2 separate regions of the Homo sapiens genome follow, and region 1 is linked to region 2. Evidence: promoter capture Hi-C in 16 types of primary human blood cells and fetal thymus (Javierre and others, 2016). All regions are on one chromosome and are shown on one strand. Each heading gives the region's core, a stretch centred on a gene start or on the middle of the fragment in contact. The rest is flanking DNA. Distances are from core to core; before and after follow the strand shown.

Region 1 (6,060 bases), core at 1,518-4,017, 350 kb before region 2:
GCAAAAATAGTGCTTTTAGAGAAATAATCTTTTGTGGCTTAATCACAAAAGGAACATCAAATAATATTTTATATATACTCGAGAACATATTATAATCACATGATAATTAAACAAAGTTCTATTTTGGAGAGAATATGTATAATCTTGTATATGGTAAAGGATGAGTCATCATTATCTTTTTATACAGTATTGATTTTCGTTTTTCAATTTTCATTATTTTGTTGATTTTCTAAAAGGAGGGAATTTTCATATTTTTGATACTAAAAAGGGATCATTCTAAGAGTTAGAACATTCTTTATTAGCCTTTCATAAGAGGAGACATATAAATAGCTGTTACTTTTGCATTGCTACATATAGTTCTATAAATATTATAGCACGATCATAGAAAAGCACATAGAAAGACGGCATAACTAATTAAACCAAGACAACTCTTTAAGTATTTAGAATAGAATTATATACATTTTTATTCATGAGCTAACCAATTTGATTACAAATGTAAAAAATAAGTTTTCAAAATACATCATTTGGAAAAAAAACCCTCTAAAATTATATGTAAGAGATATTATTTTCTGCTATAAAAATTTCCATTGCTATTTTTAGTCCACAACTGTTGCATAAAGTATTTTTTCCATAAAAGGTTCTCACACTTACAAATATAACCTCAAGATGATCAGCTGGCAAAAAATAAACAAAGACAAATTTATTTTAGACTGAAATATAAAAGAAAAAACATCAAAGAAACGTATTTTCAATTATCTATTTAACAGCCTTGAAAAGTAAAAAAATAAGGAAACCTCCCCAGAAACTTCCCCCATGTTTGGGAGATCTTTAATAATGGTGCTAGACTGAATTACGTAAGAGATCCAGTGATTTTATACCTCAGGTTTCAGATCCCTGTGCACCACTCCAACATCATGCATGTGGCTTACAGCTGAAACAAGCTTCCTCATGATGTAGCTGGCTTCCGTCTCACTGAAGTGCTTCTTTTTCTTAATGCGCTCAAACAGTTCTCCTCCATTCAGAAGTTCCATCACTAGAAACGTGTGAAGCTAGAAAAGAGAAAGAATAACGTGGAGGGCCTTCCTGAAGCACAGAAGTCTATTAACATATAAAACATTTATTGACTATCTACCACCAATACGTTTAAATAATCCCCTGTTAAAATAATCAATGGCAATCCTCATATCTTAGAGAAAAGGGCTGAAAGATAATGTAGCTGTTTTATAATTCTATTTTGGTAATGGAAAATTTCAAGTACTGCAGTGAAATCTTTATACTGTATATCCTTTTTCCCTTCTGTGATGAATTCTTTCATTTGCAGTGTTTTGTTTTAAGAGATGAAGTCTCTAAAAAGAAATCTGCCCTTGAATTCCTGGGCTCAAGGGATTCTCTCATCTCAGGCCTCCCGATGAGCTGGGGCTATAGGTGTGCAATTGCATCCAGCTAATTCTTTCATTTGAATTCCACTCCAACCCTCTCTATCAAGTTTACACATCTTTCTTTTTAAACTGCTGACAATAATGTGACAATAATGTGAAGTCACTTGCTTTAAATAATACAGAATCTGAATACTGACTGAGTAGAATGGGCAACTGAGTAGGATGGGTGTGCCCATGTGAGGCCTGGCACACCCATCCAAGGCCTGGCACACCCATCCAATGGCAAATTAATCTTTTTAAAAGGGTAATGAGGCTGGGCTCAGTGGCTCACACCTGTAATCCCAGCACTTTGGGAGGCTGAGGTGGGAGGACTGCTTGAGGTCAGGAGTTCAAGACCAGCTTGGTCAACACAGTGAGACTGTCTGTACAAAAAAAATTAAAACATAAAAGTTTAAAAAGGTATTGTTTGATATTGTCATTTTGAACCTCCTGTTAGGACTCAACAGATTAGTTTCAGGGTTCCTGTTAATATTCATTACAAATACCCATAACTCACTATGGGTTTTTGCTTTAATCCCAACAATATTATCTTAATAGTTACTTTGTAAGTTATATGTTTACCATCCTTTCTCTTCTTCTCCACCCAGGCTCTTTTCTGTCAGAATGGATAATTTCCAAAAAATAATACAGGAATTATCAAAAAGCAAAGGGCTATAGATCCCAGCACATTTAGAGGCCAGGGTGAGAGGACTGCTTGAGCCCAGAAGCTCAAGACCAGCCTAGGCAACATAGTGAGACCTCATCTCTACAAAAAATAATAACAAAAATTAGCCAGACATGGTGGCGCACGCCTACAGTCCCAGCTACTCAGGAGGCTGAGGTGGGAGAATCACTTGAGCTCGGGAGGTCAAGGCTGCAGGGAGCCGTCACTGTGCCACTGCACTCCAGCCTGGGTGACAGAGACCCTGTCTCAAAAAAGAAAAAAAGCAAAGGACTTAATCAGCTCTCAAATGAACACAAATGGTTTAGAAAAAGATATCATGGCAATATACTGAATTCAGGTGCTATGCATTATAAGGCCAACATCACTTCACAAACAAAATGTTTCTTTCTGTATTAGCAAAACTCAGAATAAACTGCTTCATAAAAAAGACAATTATAAGTACATTATCCTGAAAGCATTAGACAAATTGCAGAGTGAACAACCCTTCTAACAAGAAAATTGCTCCCAGCCTACTAGACATCAAGCTAACTTGAGTTTCTACATCAGATAAAGTTGAGCTTGCAGGTCTGCTACAACTGTAGGCTGGTGAGCTTTAAAAAAGATGTAAGGCAATACTTGCAGTGGTGTACGAACAGATTTAGAGTTCAACCTGGATTTGAAGGTCAGTTCTGTTATTTATTCATGATCTTGGGATGCTACTTTATCTTATTAATTCTAGGATCCTTATCAATAAAATGCAGATAGCAATGAGAAAATGTATGCGTGGTAGAGCTTGAATGATGGCCCTCCAAAGTTGTTCATGTCCTAATGCCCAGAACCTGTGGTTGTTACCTTAGAAGGATGGCAAAAGGGCCTTTTGAGATGTGATTAGTAAATTAAGGAGCTTGAGATGTGAGATTATCCTGAATTATTCATCAGAGTTAGCAGTATGAGATGAGACCCTGGAGGCAAGATCTTAGAGTGATGCATGGAAGGCTCACAGCCAAGGAAATGTTGGGGGGTGTCTAGAAGCTACAAAAGGAAAGTAAATGGGTTGTCCCTTAGAGCCTCCAGAGCAGTGATCCTCAACATTTTTTTTCTTTTTTGTTTTCTTATTTTTTTGAGACAGGGTCTCACTCTATCACCCAGGCTGGAGTGCAGTGGTGCAGTCTTGGCTCACTGCAACCTCCGCCTCCCAAGTTCAACGGATTATCCCACCTCAGCCTCCAGAGTAGCTAGGACTACAGGCGCACAACACCACGCCTGACTAATTTTTTGTATTTTTTGGTAGAGATAGGGTCTCACCATGTTGGCCAGACTGGTCTCAAACTCCTGACCTCAAGTGATCCACCTGCCTCACCTTCCCAAAGTGCTGGAATTACAGGCATGAGCCAGGTCCGCAACTTTTTTGGCACCAGGAAATGGTTTCACGGAAGGCAATTTTTCCATGGACGAGGGGAGGCAGTAGTGGGGTGGGACAGGCATTAGATTCTTATAAGGAGTGCTGCAACTTTGATCCCTCGCCATGCGCAGTTCACAATAGAGTTTGTACTCCAGTGAGAATCTAAGGCTGTCGCTGATCTGCCAAGAGGTGGAGTTCAGGCAGTAATGCTGGCTCACCTGCCACTCACCTCCCGCTGTGCACCTGGTTCTGCTCAAGAGGGAACCAGCTCTGGTGACAGCTTGACTTTAAGCCAATGGGCCTGATTTTGGACTTCTGACCTCCAGACTGCAGGATAATAAATTTGTATTGTTTTAAGTTTGTGGTGATTTGTTGCAGCAGCAATAGCAAACTCATGGAGTACGTGAAACGCATATCATGGCACACAAAATGAACTATGCTATTGCACAAAGGCTGAAGACCCACCATAACCAATTTCACCCATTAGTTGAAGAAAAGACTGGATACAGGGATGATCTAGGCAACTGTGCCACCATTATGAGAAAACCCAAGATACATTACAACTGCATATTAGATTGATAATGTATTTATACTAGTTTGTATAGGATTATATCATGTGACAATTTATATTTTAGTAACTCCTGAATATATAAATAGCAAAACATCTACTTAATTTGTGACACAAATAAAAAATTAGAAATGTTGTTCATGGGACCTGACATTAGTCTGAAGGTCAGAGATCAAGTATCTTGTCTGGGATGTAGTTATGGGCACAGCTGCAAACCCAGAGGAGAGCATCTAAGATCACCCGTTGATTCCTTGAATGATGTGAATTTCCTCTATATCATCTTCAACAGGAGACTGTCTAGTGAGCCTCTTCTTAAGCACCTTCGTGGCCAGGGGACTCATTACCTCCTCTTGTGTCGAGTGGCTTGATGAGGCAAGAGGAGGTAGAGGATCAGGGAGAGCGGTTCCCCCTGAGTCCTTGCTTCAGTGGCATTTCTTTTCTGACTACAAGAACCAAAGAGTGAGTAGAGGATGATGCCATTTTGGGATGCTTACTGCCAGATGTGATTCTGCCTTCCCTAAGGCAGTAGTTTAAAGTAAATAAAAGCTTGTTGGGCTCTGAAGTTGGACTGTGTGGATTCAGATCCCAGCCTTACCACACTTACCAACTGTAAGACCTGTTACTTAACTTCTATGAGTGTCCATTTTCTCACCTCATGGACCTATGGTAAGGACTGAATAAGACAATACATGCAGAGTGCCTGGTACAGAACCTAGACCACACAAGATATGTGATAATAAATGGCAGCAGCTATTATGGTTATGGTGCTACTGCTGCTGCTGCCTGGTCTCACCATGATGTATCATTCCTGGCAATAGCACTCGAGGATATTTCAATGTGGTAGAGAACTGGGCCCCATCGATCCTAGGTCACAGATATTACAACAGCACAACAAAGAGAGCCCAGAACTGGAGTACAGGTTCTCCTTATTAGATTCGCATTGACATGCTATGTGACCTTAGACAAGTTTTATGAACATTCAAAATCTCAGTTTCTTTATTGGTAAAATTAGGGCAAAGCACATTCAGGATTGGTTTGTGCTCTTGTGCCTCCAAGTTGTCTTAAGTAGGACTGCATCACCCCACCTGGTCTCAGGGGCAGAGAAGTGTAATGGAGCAATTTCTGTCATGTGTGAGGTGAACAGACACGAACTGGACACACTGGCATCCTCCCATAGTTCCTGCTGCAAAGCAGGACTGAGAGCAGAAGAGGGGGCAGCATGATCTGGCCAGGGTTCTGAGCAGAATTTACCACCTGGAGCTAGAAGATAAAAGGAGTATCTTTGCTTTCTGCTTCCTATTTGTCCTTTAGCTTGCATTAATTAGGCTCCAGGCTCTCTCAGTTTTACTCTAGAAGTGAAAGGGAAGTTGGAGGCTCAAAATTCCTGAGTCCTGAGAGGTACTCCAGGATTAAGTGATGGTGGGTAGAAGCGGCACTGGCAACAAGCACATTGTAGCCAGTGACTGCACCACTGAGCTCCTGGCCCTCCGTCTTCCTGTCATAGGTGGTTAACTGCTGAGTGAGAAAAGCATGAGAGGTGAAGGGATAACCTGATTTGGGGTTGGGAAACAGTGTGTGGTTGGGGAGGGGTTTGAGAGGGTGGTTTCACTGCCCTTTCTGGTGGCTGGGTGATGTTCTATATCCCTGACTCTGACCCAGCAGCACCAACAAAACGCGTGAAAAGTACAACCCTGTAAGTGAATTAGTACACATGGGAAAAAAAAAAAAAAAAAGTAGGATACCTGATCATGAAAAACTTCATGCAACTTCACAATATTGGGGTGTCCTTCACAGAGTTTCAGAGCTGTTATTTCCTTTTGAGTATTGGCTTCCATCCTGCAAGATGAGACACTTAGCATCCACATGTCTCTTCAAGAAAGTTTTTATATCAGTACTGCCCCAAGACTAATTTTGTCTTATTTACAGTGCATTCAGAATATACATGTTACAGTATACTGTAATGAGGTTTCCATGAAAGTAATGAATTATACCACACACTAGAAAAAGT
Region 2 (6,495 bases), core at 914-3,413:
GCTAAGTGGATGGGTGAATGTGTAAATGGATGCACAGGTGAGGGGAAGATGGATAGATGGATGAGGGAATGGGTGGCAGATGGATTATGGGTGGGTGGATAGGTGAGTAGGTGAGTAGGTGAGTGAGTGGATAGGTAAGTGGTGGGGGGTTGAGGCTGGGTGCTGGGACAGTGAGGATATCATTAATAGAAACAGGAAAGTGAGGAGGAGGAATCACCGTGGTCCCCTCTCTGCTCAGCCTGCCTGAGCTGGTCTGAGGGTCCTGATTTTTCACCAGTGCCTTCCCTTCTACTGTTCCCTGAGGACAGGCACCCCCAGATGGAAACTCTGACTTGCCCTCTACCTCATCTCCACAGGAACCTTCCTCCTCAAAAATCAAAGAACACAGTGGATGCGAAAATATTCCATAAATGGAAAAACGTAGATGTAGAGAAGAACTAAGCCACATCTGTCGAGGGCCCTGCACTTGCCAGGCAAGTTTCTGAATGTCTGTTCTCTCTTTCAACACCACTCTCATCAGCTCCCACTTTACAGATAAAGAAACTGAGGCTCAGAGAGATGAACCAACCTGCTGAAGTCTCTGCAGTTGAGATGCGGCAGGCCAGGTCTGGAACTCGGACTGGTCCATACTTTCCTTCATGCTGTGCTGACTATCATGATCATCCCAGAACCACCACCCTCAAGCCCCCAGCTCAGCCAAGCTCCAGTCCTCACAGATGCTGCAGCAATGGCCACCAGGCTTGGTCCTGGCCTGGCCCCTTCACCTGGACTATGCTTTAGCAGGTCAACCATGTTTTCAACGCCCACTGAGGAAAACCAGCCACGTGGCCAGTCCGTAGTTTGGGAAGGCATTGGAGAAAAGAATCAAAATAACACTTTATTACCCAGCTAAAAAATTGAGAAAAACTATAGAGTGACTCAACGCCTGAAAGCAAATCTTTAGCAAATGCAAATCAGCATAGAGGTCTCTGAGGACTTTAATGACCAAGAGAAATTAAGCTCCCAACAGGAAGGAAAGGCCTCTCTGACTAAGCTAGGAGTCTCTTGCATGTCCCAAGTCAGAAGGCGGAGGTGCCTAAATGCTGGATTCCAGCTGGCACATAAATAGTGATCTAACTCGCCCCCCCTTTCGTGCAGCACACACCGGCACGCACACAGACAGTTACTCATGGTGCCAGGGCTGCTCACGGAACCCCAAACCCACAAGAGCTGGGGAGTTTCCCCAGGGCCCAGCTTCCTTTTCCTTCAGTTGGCCAAACCTCTGCATGCTTTAAGCAAGGCTGTTTCATTTTCTGAAAGTGCTTTATTTTTCCCTCTGAGGAGAGGGGAAACATCAGGATGCATTTTTCCTTAGTCCCCATTTTCCCCCCAGATCGCCTCACTCCAGCAACAACGTGGACCATAGCATCTCACTTCTAGAACCCTTGTCACTGTTTCAAAGGTCAGTCCCATCTGGGCCCACGAAGTCCCTGTGAGTCAGGTGGGCTGGCATTGCTAAGCCATTTCTCAGAACCTGAAGCCCAGAGAGGCTAATGCAGGGAGGCTCAAACTCACACAGTCAGTTGGGGTGGATCTGAATCCAGAACCCACGTGTCTAGGCACCAACTTGCTGCCTTTGAGCTTTTTGGATCACAAGCAATAGCAAGAAATACACCTGACATCGCGACCCAGAACACAGACACACACACACACACACACACACACACACACACACACATCTGTACAAAGCAACAAACTTCCCCAAAGCAATACTTACCCTACTTCTTGCCACGCACTCTGATCATTTCTATTCTATTTCAATTTTTTAAATGCAGGTCATGAGCTATGAAGTTGATTTACTGACCCATGAATGGGTCACAACCCGCAGTTTGGAAACAGCTGGATGGACCCCCACCTGTGCTTTCCAGCTTCTCCTAGAGCCTCAGGGCCCCAGGAAGGCAGTGTGGTCTCTGCAACCAGGTGAGGAGCAGGCAGCTGCTGAAATCAGGATGGAGGGAGTCCTCTGAGGGGGGACTCTGAAACGAGTCCTCTCTGACTCTGCCTGCCCCAGCTAGGCTCTGCCTTCAAACCTCAAACAGCTGGGCTTCCTGCAGAGGCTCTGCAGGAGCCTGGGCACCCTTGCAGCCACGATCCCAGCTCTCCCTCCAGCGACTTCCCGCAGCCTGAACCTCCCAGCTCCGGCTAGAAAATCCCCAGCTGGAGGCTGCCCATTCCCGAGCTGAGGCAGAATCATGTGAACTCCAATCTGGTGTCAGGCTGGGCGGTTGCCGAGGAACCACTCGCCAGCCAGAGGCTGAGGGCGGCGGAATGGCTCTCTCCACGCATCTTCCTCTGCTCTCCATGCAACCCAGAGTCAGTGAGCAGCCTCGCTGGGAATGTGAAAGCCTGAGCTAGGGGCAGGTGCCCTCAGGACTGTGGTGGGGGGATACAGGAGGAGGGGGTGGGCTAATTCTAGCCACCTTTCAGCACCTACAGGATACCGGGATCCAGGCAAGGGTGGGGGAAGCCGCCAACATCTGGGTCACTGGGGCTCAACCCTGGCCATGTGCATGAGAACATACCTGGGAGCCTACAAAAAAAATACCAATGCCCGGGCCCCACCCGGGGCTGGTTAAATCATGTTTCCTGGAAGTGACGTGCCAGCATCAGTGGCTCTAAAGCTCCCTGGACTGTTCTAAAGTGCAGTGAAGGTGGGCAGCCACGGATGTGGTGAAGCAGGTAGGATCCTGTTTGGCAGAGCAGCAGAGCGAAGGCAGTGGAGCTAAGGCTCTGGGCATCAGTAAGGATAGGGCGGGCATCAATGTTTTCAACTGTGTCGGTCCCCAGAGAAGGAATCAAGCCCAGGGCTCTGGCCCCGGGGGCCCTTCTGGCTCTCAGGAGCACTTACTAAACTCCCTCCCTCACACACATAACACGGAGGATGGAAAGGCCCAGCATTTTGGCGTAACCACCTCCCTCCAAGGCAGACTCCTTGGAAGCTGATTATAAGCTACGTTGCCAGAGCCAGGAAGCCAACAGATACGGTGCATGGGGCCACTGGGGGTGCGAGTCCTTCCTGCTGGAAGTGGCCAGAGCCCTGTGCTTGGTCCCTGCTCTGGGGACCAACACAGTTTAAAACACTGATGCCCATCTTATTCATGCCAAGAGCCTTGGCTCCACTGCCCTCACTCTGTTGGTAGGGGGTCTAAGGAAATCCCCTTCAGTGGGGCCTGGGCCCTCCAAGCAAATGCTACCACATAGCAGGCCTTTTAAAAACTATTTCCGGCCAGGTGCGGTGGCTCACGCCTGGAATCCTAGCACTTTGGGAAGCCGAGGCGGGTGGATCACCTGAGGTCAGGAGTTGGAGACCGGCCTGGTCAACATGGTGAAACCCCATCTCTATTAAAAATACAAAAATTTGCTGGGGGTGGTGGCGCATGCCTGTAATCCTAGCTACTCGGGAAGCTGAGGCAGGAGAATCACTTGAACCTGGGAGGCAGAGGTTGCGGTGAGCTGAGATCATGCCATTGCACTCCAGACTGGGCGACAAAAGCGAAACTCCGTCTCAAAAAAAAAAAAGTTTCCTACGTCAGTTGCTTCTTGCAGGCCTTATGTTACGAGCAAAGGCTTCAGCTTGTTGTGGTGCAGTAGCGTGCATTTAGACACACGTGCTACTTCTGAGTTGCGGAAGTGTGGCTGGCTTTCCCTGATGTCATATAGGAGGACGCGGGGTTAGGAGCACAGAACTGACTTAGCAGTGACTGCCTGGCTTACCCCTAGGACACAACCTGCCAGAGAGAGCACCTCTGGCCCTCTACGGGGTGGCCTGTCCTAACAGGGTGTGCACACACCGGCCGTCTACACCATCATCGTCTATACCTGCAGGAACCACTAATGGCATGGTGTCCCCTCCCGCCTCCAGCCCTGCCAGGGGCTGGCAAGCTGCCCCAGCCCCTCTGCTGGCAGCATGTGCCCTACTGCACCTGGAGTAAGGACCATGCCTTTGGGATGAAGGAGGGGTGAAACTTTCTTTGGTTTTACTCAAATTGGCTGAGCCCAGGTCTTTGTGAAATGCTAGCTCAGTAAGAGAAAAAAGAGCCCATGCTCTCTCATGTGCTTGGCCCTCAAGGAGTTAGAAAATAGCCTGGAGTGGCTCAGTGCCAAGAGCTCCCTTTACCATTTCCTGAGCATTTGCTTTGCACCAGGTGCTGTGCCCATCCTTTGTTTAATCCTTATATCAACTCTGTGTGGCAGGGATTATCCTGTTGCCCAGGCTGGAGTGCAGTGGTACCACCTCCACTCACTGCAACCTCCACCTCCTGGGTTCAAGCAATTTTCCTGCCTCAGCCTCCCAAGGAGCTAGGATTACAGGCATGCGCCACCACACCAGGCTAACTTTTTTTTTTTTTTTTTTTTTTTGAGATTCGCTCTTGTTGCCCAGTCTGGAGTGCAATGGCGTGATCTCGGCTCACGGCAACTTCCACCTGCCAGGTTCAAGCTATTCTCCTGCCTCAGCCTCCTGAGTAGCTGGGATTACAGGCATGTGTCACTATGCCTGGCTAATTTTGTATTTTTAGTAGAGATGGGATTTCTCCATGTTGGTCAGGCTGGTCTTGAACTCTCGACCTCAGGTGATCCGCCCACCTCGGCTTCCCAAAGTGCTGGGATTACAGGCGTGAGCCACCACACCTGGCCCTAATTTTTGTATTTTTAGTAGCGATGGGGTTTTGCCATGTTGGCCAGGCTGGTCTCAAACTACTGGCCTCAAGTGATCCACCTGTCTTGGCTTCCCAGAGTACTCAGATTACAGGCGTGAGCCACCGTGGCTGGCTGAAACAACATCGATTTCTTATCTTGCAGTTTTGGAGGTCAAAAGCATGACATCGATCTTACTGGCTAAAATCAAAACTGCAGTCTGCAGGGCCGCATTCTTTCTTGAGGCTCTAAAATCCATTTCCTTGTCTTTCCAGCTTCTAGAGACTTCTAGCATACTTTGGCTTGTGGCATCTTCCATCTTCAAAGCCTACAGCAGTCAACTGAGTCCTTCTCACATCACATCTCCTCTTCTGACTCTCATGTTCCCTCTTCCACTTCAAAGGGTCCTTGCTTGTGACAATGCTGGATCACTCCTTACTTTAAGGTCAGCTGATTAGGAGTCTTAATTCCACCTGCTGCCTTAATCTCCCTTTGCCACGTAAGGTAACGCAGTGGCAGGTTCTGGGGATTAAGAACTGGGCCTCTTTAGAGAGGGCATTATTCTGCCTCCCACACCCACCTTGTGATACTTACTTAAAACCCTGTATAGTGCTGGCTGGGTGAGGTGACTCATGCCTATAATCCCAGTACTTTCGGAGGCTGAGACGGGTGGATTGCTTGACTCAGGGTTTGAGACCAATCTGGGCAACATGGTGAAACCCCGTCTCTACAAAAAATACAAAAAATTGGTGGGTGCAGTGGCATGTGCCTGTAGTCCCAGCTACTCAGGGGGCTGAGGCTGGGGAATTGCTTGAGCCCAGAAGGTGGAGGTTGCAGTGAGCCGAGATCACACTTGGGCGACTAGAGTGAAACCATGTGTCAAGCAAAACAAAACAAAACAAAAACCCTGTACAGCGCTGCTTCTCGAATGTTAGTGTGCATGTATTATACATCTCCCAGGAATCTTGTTAGTGTATCTTCTGGTTCAGTTCAGTAGGTCTGGGGTAGGGCCCGAGATTCTTCCCTTCTTTTTTTTTTGAGATGGAGTCTCGCTCTGTCACCCAGGCTGGAGTGCAGTGGCGCAATCTCAGCTCACTGCAAGCTCCGCCTCCCGAGTTCACGCCATTCTCCTGCCTCAGCCTCCTGAGCAGCTGGGACTACAGGCGCCCGCCACCACGCCTGGCTAATTTTTTGTATTTTTAGTAGAGATGGGATTTCACCGTGTTAGCCAGGATGGTCTTGATCTCCTGACCTCGTGATCTGCCCTCCTCAGACTCCCAAAGTGCTGGGATTACAGGTGTGAGCCACCACGCCCGGCCTGATTCTGCCCTTCTAACATGAACTGAGGACCACCTTTATCTCTTGTATCCCCATGGCAATTGCTATAATGCTGCACAAGTGTTTGGACTAAATAAATACTTGATAATGGAAAGGGCCAGGCATGGTGGCTCACAGCTGTAATTCTAGCACTTTGGGAGGCCAAGGCAGGAGGATCAATTGCTTGAAGCCAGGAGTTTGAGACCAGCCTGGGCAAAAAAGTGAGACCTTGTCTGTACAAAAATTTAAAATATTAGCTGGTTGTGGTGGCCCGCACCTGTAGTCCCAGCTAGTTGGGAGGCCAAGAAGGGAGGATCCCTTGAGCCTGAAAGTTTGAGGCTGTAGTGTCCAGCCTGGGTAACAGAGAAAGACCCAAAGGAAGGAAGGGAGGAAAGGAGGGAGGGGAGGGGAGGAAGGAAGGAAGGAAAGAAGGAAGAGAAAAGGAGGGAGGGAAGGAAGGAAAAATTGAGCTCTGAGTGTTTTTATCACTGTGGTACAAGGGAG

What was found. Contacts are between HindIII fragments. The CHiCAGO score rates a contact against its expected background, and 5 or more counts as called.
Region 1: a contact is called between a fragment that was not itself captured here and the fragment with the promoter of GPR68 in region 2, in 3 of 17 cell types (naive CD4 T cells, activated CD4 T cells and naive B cells). The highest score is 6.6, in naive CD4 T cells.

The regions. Positions count from the first base shown.
Region 1 is chr14:90,893,535-90,899,594 of GRCh38, forward strand. It overlaps RPS6KA5 (ribosomal protein S6 kinase A5), which reads right to left. Exons shown (of 17, transcript NM_004755.4): 12 at 5,795-5,888; 13 at 879-1,049. Among named protein-coding and RNA genes, the nearest start is that of LINC02321, 68 kb to the left of the region's middle. The HindIII fragment of the contact is 3,657 bases long and covers 940-4,596 here.
Region 2 is chr14:91,242,541-91,249,035 of GRCh38, forward strand. GPR68 (G protein-coupled receptor 68) reads right to left here and starts at 2,164. Exons shown (of 2, transcript NM_001177676.2): 1 at 1,757-2,164. RefSeq lists enhancers at 692-801, 1,861-2,362, 1,882-1,931. The HindIII fragment of the contact is 37,333 bases long and covers 1-6,495 here.